2 separate regions of the Homo sapiens genome follow, and region 1 is linked to region 2. The links are contacts of gene promoters, found by promoter capture Hi-C in blood cells and fetal thymus (Javierre and others, 2016). All regions are on one chromosome and are shown on one strand. The core of a region is centred on a gene start or on the middle of the fragment in contact, and the rest is flanking DNA. Distances in the headings are between cores, read along the strand shown.

Region 1 (6,980 bases), core at 1,103-3,602, 790 kb before region 2:
AGATGTTTTTTATTTGCTATTTAATGTTGCTCTAAGTAAAGAAAATTAAAACATTAAATTATTAGCACAAATTTTATTATGCATTTTTATATTGTTTTAAATGCAAATATAAGAACAGCTTACTTGGATGCAGAATCACCAGAATTACACAATTCTCATTTTGTAGTTCATGCATGCATGTGCATTTTGTTCTTACCAGAACAAAGGAAACTACACAAAGTTAACTCAACTGTGTTCATTTCACCTCTTGGTGTGTATGTACTCTACCAACACTCTACCTTAGGCTATGGATAAGTAAGGAAGGATTGAAGGGGAAAAGAACAATATCATCACCCCATGTCATCCTTGTCAGCATAAGTGATGGCTAATACAAAGAAGTAACACCAGTAAAAAAGGATATCAAAGGGTCTGTTGGTCTTAGAAAACCATTTCCTTTTTTCTGCATTCGAAGGAAGTCCTGGTTCAAACAGAGACTGGCCTTTGGGGAGAGTCAATGCAAACCATTTGCTTCTTTCTGCATTCAAAGGAAGTCCTGGCTCAAACAGAGACTAGCCTTTGGGGAGAGTCAATGCCCCAGCTTACTTTGTCCTCACTCTAAGCTTCTCTGAAATCCTACCTGTCGTGGGTCCATGGGAATTCTGGACTCATGAGGCATCTCAAATGCTATATGCTAGTGGCGTAGCAAAAGAGCTTAAAAGAATTTCAAGACAGTGACAGCAGAGCATTAAAAAGCAGCATGAGTCACTCTGAATGTTTTCCCTTTGTGACTACAAATGTCAAACACCAATTTGCACATATTATTGAAATCTATTATATGTGGCCATCTAGGAAGGCTCAAGGTAGGCTAACAAGGCGGTGTTCAATGACATATCACTGTGGGATGGCTGTTTTCACCAATGCATTCACAGAGGGATGCTCGGAATGTTATCGGCTCTGGTATTCTAATATTGCCACATGAGATACTATTGCCATGCTCCTCAGTGGTATTTTCTTCCAAAAATAAGTACATTAATTAAAAATAAGAAAATACACGAATATAGTAAACAAATAATACTTAAGCAGGAGCTGGTAGGAATGAATGGAGGAACACTACCAAATCATCTAACAACAGCAGCACATCTCACTGGCAGAAATTCAGATGTGGAATTATGCTTCAAATGCTACTAATGGACTACGCTAAGGAGATACTGAATCTATGAAGGGTATTGAAATGCATACTTTTCTTCTACATATGATTCTACAGTGAATAAGTCTTATGAGACCTGATGGTTTTATAAAGGGGAGTTCCCCTGCACAAGCTCTCTTGCCTGCCACTATATAAGTAGAAATTACTCTACTTTTAATTACAGTGGCTCACGCCTGTAATCTCAGCACTTTGGGAGGCTGAGGCGGGTGGATCACGAGGTCAGGAGATCAAGACCATTCTGGCTAACACGGTGAAACCCCGTCTCTACTAAAATACCAAAAAAAAAAGTTAGCCAGGCGTGGTGGCGGGCGCCTGTAGTCCCAGCTACTCGGGAGGCTGAGGAAGGAGAATGGCGTGAACCCGGGAGGTGGAGCTTGCAGTGAGCCGAGATTGCACCGCTGCACTTCAGACAGAGCGAGACTCCATCTTAAAAAAAAAAAAAAAAGGAAAAAGAAAAAAAAAAGAAAAATCCCAGTTTTTCAGGCCACACAGAGTTGTTCACTAGCTGCACTCTGGACCATGAATCCAGCCATTCAGAATCACATCTTGGTGGGATTTACTATCTACTCTGGATTGGAATATTGCCATTATCAGCCTCCAATGAAATAATGGACTTAGGCAATCATGGTTTTTAGTTACTAAAACCATAAGATGAAAAGTTGATATGTAAGATCACAGTGGATGAATCAGGCTGATACACTAGGAACTCATTGATCAATCTTAACATTACCAAATATGACATTGTGTGCCTCCTCTCAGAAATACACACCACCACCTGGAAAGTATCAATGCCAAAAAAATTGAATAGAATCTGATTAGGCATCTAGATCTATCTACAATCTAGAAGAGCATGTTAATTGTATATTTGCATGATTTTACACTCATCATACTAATCATCAAAGTCTAGAATGTAGTGAATGCTACATGACAACCTATTTTCTTTCATAAATGAATTGCTGGGAACCAAAAATGTCAGGATGTGGACACCTGTAGATGAAAACAGATTAGAGCTACATATTCACCAGATATAATCAGTGAACCTTGTTTGGATCCTGTATTAGTCTGTTCTGACACTGCTAATAAAGACATACCCAAGACTGGGTAATAATTTATAAAGAAAAAGAGGTTTAATGGACTCACAGTTCCACATGGCTGGGGAGGCCTCACAATGGTGGCGGAAGGCAAAGGAGGACCAAAGGCACATCTTATAAAGTGGCAGGCAAGAGAGCTTGTGCAGGGGAACTCCCCTTTATAAAACCATCAGGTCTCATAAGACTTATTCACTATCAAGAGAAGAGCATGGGAAAGACCCACCCCCATGATTCAATTACCTCCCACAGGGTCCCTCCCATGACGTGTGGGAATTATGGAAGCTACAATTCAAGATGAGATTTGGGTGCAGACACAGCCAAACCATATCAGATCCTGATTCAAACTAAGCAACTGGAAAAAAAAAATGCATGTGACAATTTGAACACTAACTAGATAATCTGATAATATTTAGAACTCATTATTAATAATTCAGATAAGATAATGTTTGCATCTTATGGTTTTAGGAAAAAAAGAATTACCTTATAAAGATAAATACAAAGACATTTATAGCTGCAATTAATTCTATGATGTCTGGAATTCAAAATAATCCTGTGGTGGAGGAAGGGGAGTATGCATCAAATAAGACTGGTTGAAGTCAGATGATGAGCACTTGATGGGGGCAGAGTTATCTATTATTATACGAATACTATTAGACCTTAAACTATTCTCTCTACTTTTGCACCTATTTGAGATTGTCCATAATAAAAACTTTGAAACATAAAAATTTTTGAAAACAGTATTTAAACAATGGTTTCATACCACGAGCTGTAGTCTTTACTCATATTTCATCCCTCTTCATGGCCTCTTCCATGATGCCAGGTGTGTGTTACTCACTTTACGTATGTTCCTTTGTATAAGCCGTTCCTCTGTGCCCTCAAATGTCCAACTTACAGAATCCCCACGTTGCCCACACCCTTTCTTCTGTTTCTTGCATTGAAACAGAGATACTTCAATACAAATAAAACATATTTAACCCATTAATTGTTTTCTCCGGTGAACTTAGTCTTTCAGAAGTTAGTCTTCATTCATCTTTATCTTCCTCTCAAATGTTTAAATAGACAGATGCCAAGTATGTAACACTCTTTGGTATAAATAAATGAAACCATGTAATCATCATTTTCATCTATGTTTTCTGACTTCCTTAAGCAAAGTTCCTCCTCCATGATCTTGTGAAGCTCTTCAAACTTCTGCCAGCATGCTTACTAAGTCTATCGCGAGTGTCATTTTGCATATACCTACACTTATCTGTCTCTTCCTCCAGAAGAAAGTGAGAGCTTTGAAGTTGCCAAGTGTTTCTTATTCCTCCATCTCCAGTTTGACACACACTAAGAATTCAATAAAAATTTTTTTTACGTAAAGGAAGAGAGGTAAGAGAAGCAGGGGCAGGAGGGAGAAAGAAATGTTTAAATAAATACATTAGAAACTGTGAATATTAATAGTTTAAATGTTTGACTCCTATATTTTTCCAATCTTGTTTGACTGGTAAGTCTGCAGGGTTCATACCTTAAACTTGAGTCATGCTTACTACTTATAACCAGCCTCCACTAATTCTCCGATTGTATAAGAAGTCAAGAACTATGAAAATCCACAAATATAATATCTGAAAAATCACAAAGTACAAGGTTAATCACACAAGATTAGGATTGCATCCCAAATTAGAAAATAAAATTGTTAACAAAAAAGCATATTATTTTTGAATAATAAATTAGGTAAAAAATTTTGCAAAGAATCAAAATTTCCATCAAAGAAGAAAGGAGAAAATATGTACATGATTACAAACTTAATCAAAATGGACATTATTTAAAGAGGATTTGGCTTGAAAGCTTCTAGGTATTAGTTTGTTTTAATTCTGTATGTTCAAAAGTTGTGAAATACATAGTTTCTAGGATAGAGTGACCAAATATGTTTTATTTAATCATTCCACATGCCTTCCACCTGTTGGGAATAGACCGTCTCTGTCAGGTCCTGTCTGCTTTAAGTCAACATCACTCTATTCATCAAGCTGACAATCTTAAATGGAAGTCAGTGTTCTATTTGATTTTCTGCCATCATAATGTGCCTTCAGCCACAACCACTTTCAAATTGCTTTTTCCTGGGGAAGATTGTGAGCTTATCATTAAGCTCACAGCCAAAAAGCCTTAATACATCAAATGGAATGGAGAATAAATGTAAAAAATGCACTAACAGAGGATGTCAGATCTCATTTATTTTTCATTTTACTCTTTCAGTACACATATATCTTTTTTATGTTGAAATATTATCTCTAAATCATCCATTCAAAAAGGGATTTTCAAATTAATTTAATTTTCATAACATGTGCAAGCAAACACAATAAGCAAACAAACAAAACAATCTCTCAATGGCCAAGCTGTGCTTTTCCTTTCTCCATGCAACACCTGCAAGCTGCATTGACTTCTGGGAGAACTGATGCACTGTCTCAGAACTTGCAGGTTTTTAACATGAACTTATACCACAGCAACTACAAGAAATTGTTCTGGGGCCTACCAAAAGTTAGGGATACCTGTCGTTTTAGTCTATTTTCTGCTGCTATAACAAAATACCTCAGACTGGGTAATTTATAAAGAAAAGATATTTACTTGGCTCACAGTTCTGGAGGCCAGGAAGTCCAGGATTAAGGGGCTGCATCTGGTGAGGGCCTTCTAGCTGCATCATACCATGACAGAAGGCATCACATGGTGAGAGAGCCCGAAGCGAGAGTGCATGAGTCAGAGAGAGGTTGGGGGCTGGAACTTCATCCATTTTTATCAGGAACCCAGCCTCACAATAATGGCATTAATCCATTCACAAAAACAGAGTCCCTCATGACCTAATCACTTCTTAAAGGTCCCACCTTTCAACACTGTTACAATGGCAATTACATTTCAACATGAGTTTTGGAGGGGACATTAAAACTATAGCACCTGTGCATCAGTTAGGATCTGTTCCTCGGCAAATAATGGCACACAACAGGGCTTAACACACCATTTACTTAATATGGATTCAGAGGCAGGCAGTGCTAGGGTTGGGCAGGCACACCAACAATGCCACCAAGGACTCCACACTTTCACCCTTCCTCATGATCCATAGCGTGTGGGCTTTTGTCCTTGGGCTTTTATTTTTTTTTCTTTTTTGACGGAGTCTCACTCTGTCACCCAGGCTGGAGTGCAGTGGTGCAATCTTGGCTCACTGCAATCTCCGCCTGCCAGGTTCAAGCAATTCCCTTGCCTCAGCCTCCCAAGTAGCTGGGACTACAGGCGTGCGTCACCTCGCCCAGCTAATTTTTGTATTTTTAGTAGAGACGGTGTTTCACCATGTTGGCCAGGATGGTCTCAACATCCTGACCTGTGATCCGCCCACCTCAACCTCCCAAAGTGCTGGGATTACAGGCGTGTGCCACTGCACCCAGCAGGGCTTGTTTCTTTATAGTCATCATATGCTCACATAGCAGTTGTCCAAAGGGAGGGAGGAAAGAAGGCAAAAAGAGCTTTCTCTTTGCCCCACTCTCTCTTCTGTCAAGGAGAAAAATCTTTCCCAGAATCCCCAATAGAGTTCCCATTTGGACTCATTGGCCAGAACTGGGTCACATGCACAAACCTGGAAAAAAATCACTGGCAAAACAAATGGGGTTAATATGATTAGCCTGAATCAATTACAGTTCAACCCCTGAGGCCTCACACTGTTCAAACAAAGGAAGACTTCACTGCTAAATGAGGAAGACTTCACTATTAGCAAATGTCTTCAATCTGCCAAAAATTATATATTTATCCCTAAAGACACCTATAATTCCATTTTTAGCAAGTTAATACACTGAACATGGACATGCAGTGAAGTAGAATGGAAATCAAAATACAAAAGATTGATAAAATATTAGCCTTGATAGTTGGAGCTTTAATAAAAGGCCAAACAAGCGTTATTCTTACTTTGAAGATAATTCTAAGTGTGTGATATTTACCATAAATCCTTCATTAGTGAATATTAGAGATTTATCATTTTCCTTTCATGTAATGACCTTTACCATTAGTAAATGACATTTTTTAAATTAAATCAACAAGTCCTCCAAGAAGAAACATGAAATTGTAGAGAAGTGTCTAAATGTTAATGTTGCAAGACCATGAATAACCTTTAAGTTGTCTCTGCAGAAGCAAATTCATCATTAAATTTAACCAGTTCACTAGCACTGAGGATACCAGGAGCACCTGTTTTCTATGAGATCATCACCATTATTCAGATTCTACACAAGAATTTTTCAACAACCTATTTATGAGTCTACCTAACCATATCATCAAAAAGGATTTACCAAGTTCTTACTTAAACACAGCTATACTATTTCCCTGCTGTACCAAACCACAATCATATATATACATATACACACATACACATATGTTTATTCTGGAAAGATTTTTTTTTTTGAGATGGAGTTTTGCTCTTGTCGCCCAGGCTGAAGTGCAGTGGCACGATCTCCACTCACTGCAACCTCCACCTCGTGGGTTCAAGTGATTCTCTTGCCTCAGCCTCCCGAGTAGCTGGGATTATAGGCATGCACCAACACGCCCGGCTAATTTTCGTATTTTTAATAGAGATGGGGTTTCATCATGTTGGCCAGGCTGGTCTCGAACTCCTGACCTAAGGTGATCCACCTGTCGCAGCCTCCCATAGTGCTGGGATTACAGGCATGAGCCACCGCGCCCAGCCTGGAAAGATT
Region 2 (6,184 bases), core at 2,622-5,121:
CTGTTTGTACCCAGGCATTCCAGACCAGTGTGGGCAACAAGGTGAGATCCCTGTCTCTACAAAAAATAAAAAAATCAGGCAGGTATGGTGGTGCATAGCTGTGGTCCCAGCTATTCAGGAGGCTAAGGTAGGAGGATTGCTTGAGCCAGGGAAGTTGAGGCTGCAGTGAGCTGTGATTGTACCATTGCACTCCAGCCTGGGTGACAAAGTGAGACCCAGTCTCAAAATAAACCTCCCAAAACCCAAAAAACAAAACAAAAAAAACACCCAAGAACCACCCCGCCACCACCAAAAAAAAACCAACAAACAAAAAAACTAATGGACTTAGAAGGATTCTTGTTAAAACTGGACCAGACAGGTTGAAGACAAGTCCCAAATGACAAGGCCTAATCAAAAGGAGAGCTCACTCAGAGCCTGTGTAAAGTCTGGTTAAGGAGAGTCTCTGTCAGTACAAAATGTAGAACAATTAGTGGTGGCACTTAATAAGTCATCTAAGGGAGGAGACCACCCCTCATATTGTCTTATGCCCAATTTCTGCCTCCAAAGAAAGAAGTAAAAACTAAAAGGCAGAAATGAAATCCATAAGCAGACAGCCCGGCGCCACACCCTGGGCCTGGTAGTTACTGATCCACCCCTGACCTAATCGGTTATTTGCATAAAAAAGGCACTGGGCCGGGCACAGTGGCTCACGCCTGTAATCCCAGCACTTTGGGAGGCCAAGGCGGGTGGATCAGAGGTCAGGAGACAGAGACCATCCTGGCTAACACAGTGAAACCCCGTCTCTATTAAATACACAAAAAATTAGCTGGACATTGTGGCGGGCGCCTGTATTCCCAGCTACTTGGTGGGCTGAGGCAGGAGAATGGCGTGAACCCAGGGGGTGGAGCTTGCAGTGAGCAGAGATCTCGCCACTGCACTCTGGCCTGGGCAACAAAGCGAGACTCTGTCTCAAAAAAAAAAAAAAAAAAAAAGACACCGTGAAGACCCCTGTCCAGTTCGGTTCCTTTCTAATTAGTGGTGTACGCAGCCCCCAGTCACGTACCCCTTGCTTGCTCAATCAATCACGATCCTCTCATGCAGACCCCCTTAGAGTTGTGAGCCCTTAAAAGGGACAGGAATTGCTCGCTCGGGTTGCTCGGCTCTTGAGACAGGAGTCTTGCCGATGCTCCTGGCCGAATAAACCCCTTCCTTCTTTAACCTGGTGTCTGAGGGGTTTTGTCTGCGGTTCTTCCTGCTACAGTCAATCGATCCAAGGGATTTAGTCAATTCTAGTGGATACTTTTAGTCCTCATTTTGCTTGATATTTTGGCAGCTTTCCAATGTTGATTACACCTTCACTGAAACACTTGGTGACAGTGTACTTAGGCTTGTCTGTTTCCTAGTTAATCCATCTCTTCTTGTCTTTAAAAAGTGCTGGAATTCCTCAAAGGTGGGTCCCCCTCCCCCACCCTTCATTCATGGGTTCAATCACTATCTAAGGCTAAATGGCTCAAGTTTTTAAAACTAGCCCAGACTTCTCCAGCGCTCCAAATCAATATATCTAACTGCTTATACCATCTACTCTTGGTTATCTCATAGATACCCCCAAATCAAAATGTATAAAATCAAACTCATAATCTCTTCTCCGTTGACCCAAAATAAAATTCATGATTCTCCAGTGATCCCTACCTCAGTGAAAGGCAGCAATACAATTCAGTCCCCACCCCCAGCAAGTTTTCTCCCATCTTTCTTTCTTTCTCCATTTCTGCTGCCATTTATCCTAATCCAAGTCACTATAATCTCTTGCCTAAACAATGGTCTTAAGTGGTTCTCTTCCTCCAAACAATCCTCCACACTGCCGCCTGAGTAGTATTTTAAATATGCAAATCTGATCATGTCATTCCCCAGCTTAAGGTTTTCCTATAGTCTACAAAGTCCTGCGGGTTTTGACCCTGCCTACTGTGCACACCCTATCTTCTTTCTTTCCCAGTTTTTTTTCTTTTCTTTCTTTTCTTTTCTTTTTTTTTTTCGGGACAGAGTCTTGCTCTGTCATCCAGGCACGACAATGGCTAACTGCAGCCTGGATCTCCTGGGCTCAAGAGAGCATCTGGCCCAAGCCTCCAGAGTAGCTGGGACTACAAGCATGTGCCACCACAGCTGGCTAATTTTAAAAAAAAATTTCAGTACAGATGAGGTGTTGTTATGTTGCCCAGGCTAGTCTCCAACTTCCGGGCTCAAGTGATCCTCACTCCTCGGCCTCCTAAAGTGGTGGGATTACAGGTGTGCACCACCGTGCCCTCCCTCCCAGCCATTTTGTTCAGTTTCCCAGGCTTTCTTTTGCTCCCTCAAGGCCTTTACTGAGTTCAGCCTGCAGAGAACGCTTTCTCCCACTGAAACTCACCCCAATTTATCCCCCTTAGACCTCTTTCCAAAAGCTACTTCCTCAAAGAAACCTCTGTGACCCTTGGAAAGTTATTTGTTTTCACAGCATCCTGCACTTCTCTCTCATAGCACTTATAACTATAATCAACCAAGTAATAATGTAACCAGTTATCTTAATATTGATCTTCTCTGCTAGGAAGTAAACTCAATACATGTAAGGACAGAATGTCTTGTACCTCAGTGCCTACCAGCATACTTGATATACAAGAGCACAAAAAACATTTTCTGAATGATTGTATGACTACATGCATGCCTGACTAAAAAGGCGACAATACTTTTTACATTAAATTTAACAAGTTTAACTTCTTTTTGCGTTTTCAAATTACTCCACAAAATTACACGAGAAAAATGAATTCCTTCAAACTTAAATCCTACTATATTAAACTATATTAAAAGTCTATCACATAAAATTCACTTCCACAAGGATTTAACTCTAACAAAATAAGCATGTGAGATTAAATATACCCGTTATAGAGATGAAAAAAAGGTTCAAGTGGTTTAACTCACGCATTTAATATAAAGGAAACAATTCCTAGAATTCAAGTCTCTTGGCGGTATTATTCCTGCATACTAGCTATTTTTCATGTGGGGCAATTTTTACCTGATTCAAAGATTTCCCCAAAATAAAGATATCACAAAAACTGATGTAAATATGGTTAAGTCTTTTATCTCAACTAGTTTGAAGTTTTAATTATGTGCATTTGGGCTTAAGTAGATTTTTAGGTTTAAAAAAAGACGTTAACCAAAGCAAGTCACTCAACTTTAAACTTTCACTTTATGACATCATATCTACTAGAGATTTCATTTTACATGTCGCTTTCCCCCAATTTTTAAATGTCCCCTCGATTTACAAATATGAGATGACATATAGCACCTACGACATTTTTTCATAGCAGCCTACCAAGTAGATGTAGTCCTTCACATAAAAATAATGGCAGTGGGCGACCACTCCGTCATGTCTGAGGGTTTTGTTTTTCTTAAACATCACCGTGCCCAAGGGTCAGATGTTCTGGCTGCTTTCAGGGATCAATTACAACCACGTTTGCAATACCTACATTTCTGGGTAATGACTGTGCTAGAACATGAAGAGATTCTCTTTTCTACTTACTCCACAAATGCCCTGGAGCAAAGGCACAGTATCTTACAATCCTCCCGCTCCTCAATGAAGAGAAACATTTCCGCCACGCGGCTCCACTTCTCGCAGCACATTTTACCACTTCGGAGGCAGCTCTGACGTACGCAGCCCGGGTCGCGCCTGCCGGGCCTCCGCTCGGTTACTGGAGACTTAAAACAGGCCTCGCCCGCAAGCCCTGGATGAGGAGATAGAAACTGGCCCGCGGCCGCTCGCGCCGGGAACTAGCCCGGACGCTGCCGCCGGAAGTGGCTCCGAGGGGCCACGGGAAGGGGCGGGACCACGGGCGGTGTCACCCCCATCGCGGCCCGGGCTGCAGCCGCCGCTTGGCTTCTTTCACACGGGTTGCTTCGGAGGAATCCGCCGTGCAAATCTGTCCGCCCCCTTGGCCACTGATCCCCCGAAGAGCTTCTGTCGCCGCTCTAGGGTAAAGGAGAGCTGCCCCTGCCCCTGCCCCCGCCTATCCGAGGTGCGTCGGCCCCCGCGCTTCTCCAGCCCGGCATCGGGTCTGGCGGGACTGGGAGCGGCGGAGGCCGCGCGCGTCCGGTCTCCCAGGAGCCGCCTCGGAATCCCCAGTCTCTTCGCGGGCAGGCTCGGCTTCCCGCCGGCCTCAGTGTTGCGCCCCAGCGCCAGAGTGGCCGGGTGTGGAGATCCTCCCTCCTCTGGGTCAAAGAGCCTGCTCTCCCCGCCCCTCTTCTCCCCTGGCGCTCTAAACCTTCGGTTCGGCGCGTTTCATCCTAATGCATCTGGTGGGGCGAGGCGTCTCTAGCCTCTGTAGAGGCCTCTAGGCTTGCCCAGTGGCTTCGCTGGTTCCGGGACCCAGGTCGAGCCTCCGGTGTAAAAGCCAAGGGGAAGTGTGTGGTGATCCCGAGAGTGTAGGGGGAAAGCCGCGTGGGTAGAGCGTTCGTATCCAGACCGATCAGGCTTGGAATCCTGGTCCTACCTTGTGACCTGGGCAGGCAACTTCACCTTTCTGAGCTTACCTTTGATCACCTGTGAAATGGGGTTGATTAATAGTAACTACTACATGAGGCTGCAGGGAGGACTAAACGAAATGATGTATATTACACCTTTCCTTTGTGCGCTTAATCGTTGGCGTCGGTTTGGACCTTGTAGGCGTTAAGTGCTGTCTCGGTCCCTGGGGTTTGCAGCCTGTAAAACAGGTCTCTGCCTTCAAGTTACTAATTATCTAATAAGAAAAAAGTTCATGTGGGCATAAATAGGATGGAGAAAATGGAAACAGCAGCGTTGCTGGATCTGTTAAAAAGCAGTTAGTATTTGGTGTGTGGTATTCATGGAGGCTGCACGGGCAACTTCTTCAGAGACAAGCTCAGACTTGAAAGTTGGAGCGCTTCGGACGTGGTTGGTGCTACGAAATGCCAAAATAGTATTGGTACTTCTTCAGAACTATATAAAAACTGAGCTAAAATTCATGCATTTTGAATGGTATTTTCAATAGTATTTTGGCCACATTTACTAGTTAGTGGAAATATTCATTTTCAAATGTTTATTCCCACCTCCTTACTGCTGCCCTACTTTGAGGTCGGAGATAGGCTGATTTTGTTGGTTCAAGAAGGTAAGAGTGCTGCACGGTTACAGATATACCAGTATAGATGTGCAGCATTATTGGGATGAGTAGCTGGGTTACGATAATAAGGGTAGAACAGTAATTATGAAACAGAGTGGAAGATTTTAGCTAGAAGTTGGGCATTCTAGGATTAAAGAAAAGTCTTGAAGGGTAATTTGTATCAGAACCTCGAGTTTAAAGCTTGAAATAAAAAAAGTATTAAAGCTAAAAGGATTAGATTTACCAGCTATCTTGACAAATACTAAATTGCAGCTTTATTCATGGTTTGAAGTAGAAGTCCTATTCAGTAAAACAGTGCTGTATCTCTGTTAAACCATTATTAAATATGCAGAAAGGAAACAGGAAAACTTGTTTTTCAGTGACTATATCTTTTAATTGGCATTTTCAGAATGTTCTCAATGTGACTTATATACTAAAAGTAAAATGGAAAAGTACTGGTAATGGGTGTTCAAAATAGATATACTTTATTTATTTATTTATTTATTTTTTTTGAGACAGGATCTTGCTCTGTCACCCAGGCTGTAGTGTAGTGGCGCGATCGCGGCTCACAGCAACCTCTACCTCCCAGGCTCAAGCAATCCTCCTACCTCAGCCCCCCGAGTAGCTGGGGCTACAGGCATGCCACCATGCCTGCCTAATTTTGTGTGTGTGTGTGTGTGTGTGTGTTTTGTAGAGACAAGGTTTTGCCATATTGCCCAGACTGGTCTTGAATTCTTGGGTTCAAGTGATTTGCCTGCCTCAGCCTCCCAAAGTGTTAGGATTATAGGCATGAGCCACTGAGCCCAGCCTAAAATAGATACACTTTCTTAAGGTTTTATTGAAAGCCAAAAAGTTCTCTGTTCTGATTTATTAGTTTTTGAAATACTCTGATTTTAAACATCTGTAAGGTCCATATCCTCACCATCAATGTCAATATGGTGATATTTGAGCTTGTCAACTTTTTTTTTTTTTTGGAGACGGAGATTCATTTTTGTTGCCTAGGCTGGAGTGCAATGGTGCGATCTTGGCTCACCGCAACTTCCGCCTCCTGGGTTCAAGCGATT

What was found. Contacts are between HindIII fragments. The CHiCAGO score rates a contact against its expected background, and 5 or more counts as called.
Region 1: a fragment that was not itself captured here is called in contact with the fragment with the promoter of TMEM68 in region 2 in 1 of 17 cell types (M0 macrophages); the score reaches 5.5 in M0 macrophages.

The regions. Positions count from the first base shown.
Region 1 is chr8:56,563,183-56,570,162 of GRCh38, reverse strand. It overlaps LOC105375850 (a long non-coding RNA gene), which reads right to left and starts at 4,916. Exons shown (of 3, transcript XR_928912.3): 1 at 4,876-4,916; 2 at 3,782-3,878; 3 at 3,459-3,603. RefSeq lists a silencer at 5,498-5,673. The HindIII fragment of the contact is 3,502 bases long and covers 602-4,103 here.
Region 2 is chr8:55,771,065-55,777,248 of GRCh38, reverse strand. TMEM68 (transmembrane protein 68) reads left to right here and starts at 3,871. Exons shown (of 8, transcript NM_001286657.2): 1 at 3,871-3,980. TGS1 (trimethylguanosine synthase 1) reads right to left here and starts at 3,803. Exons shown (of 13, transcript NM_024831.8): 1 at 3,530-3,803. The coding sequence starts at 3,630. RefSeq lists enhancers at 3,365-3,694, 4,466-4,969 and silencers at 3,835-4,024, 4,115-4,244. The HindIII fragment of the contact is 10,724 bases long and covers 1-5,323 here.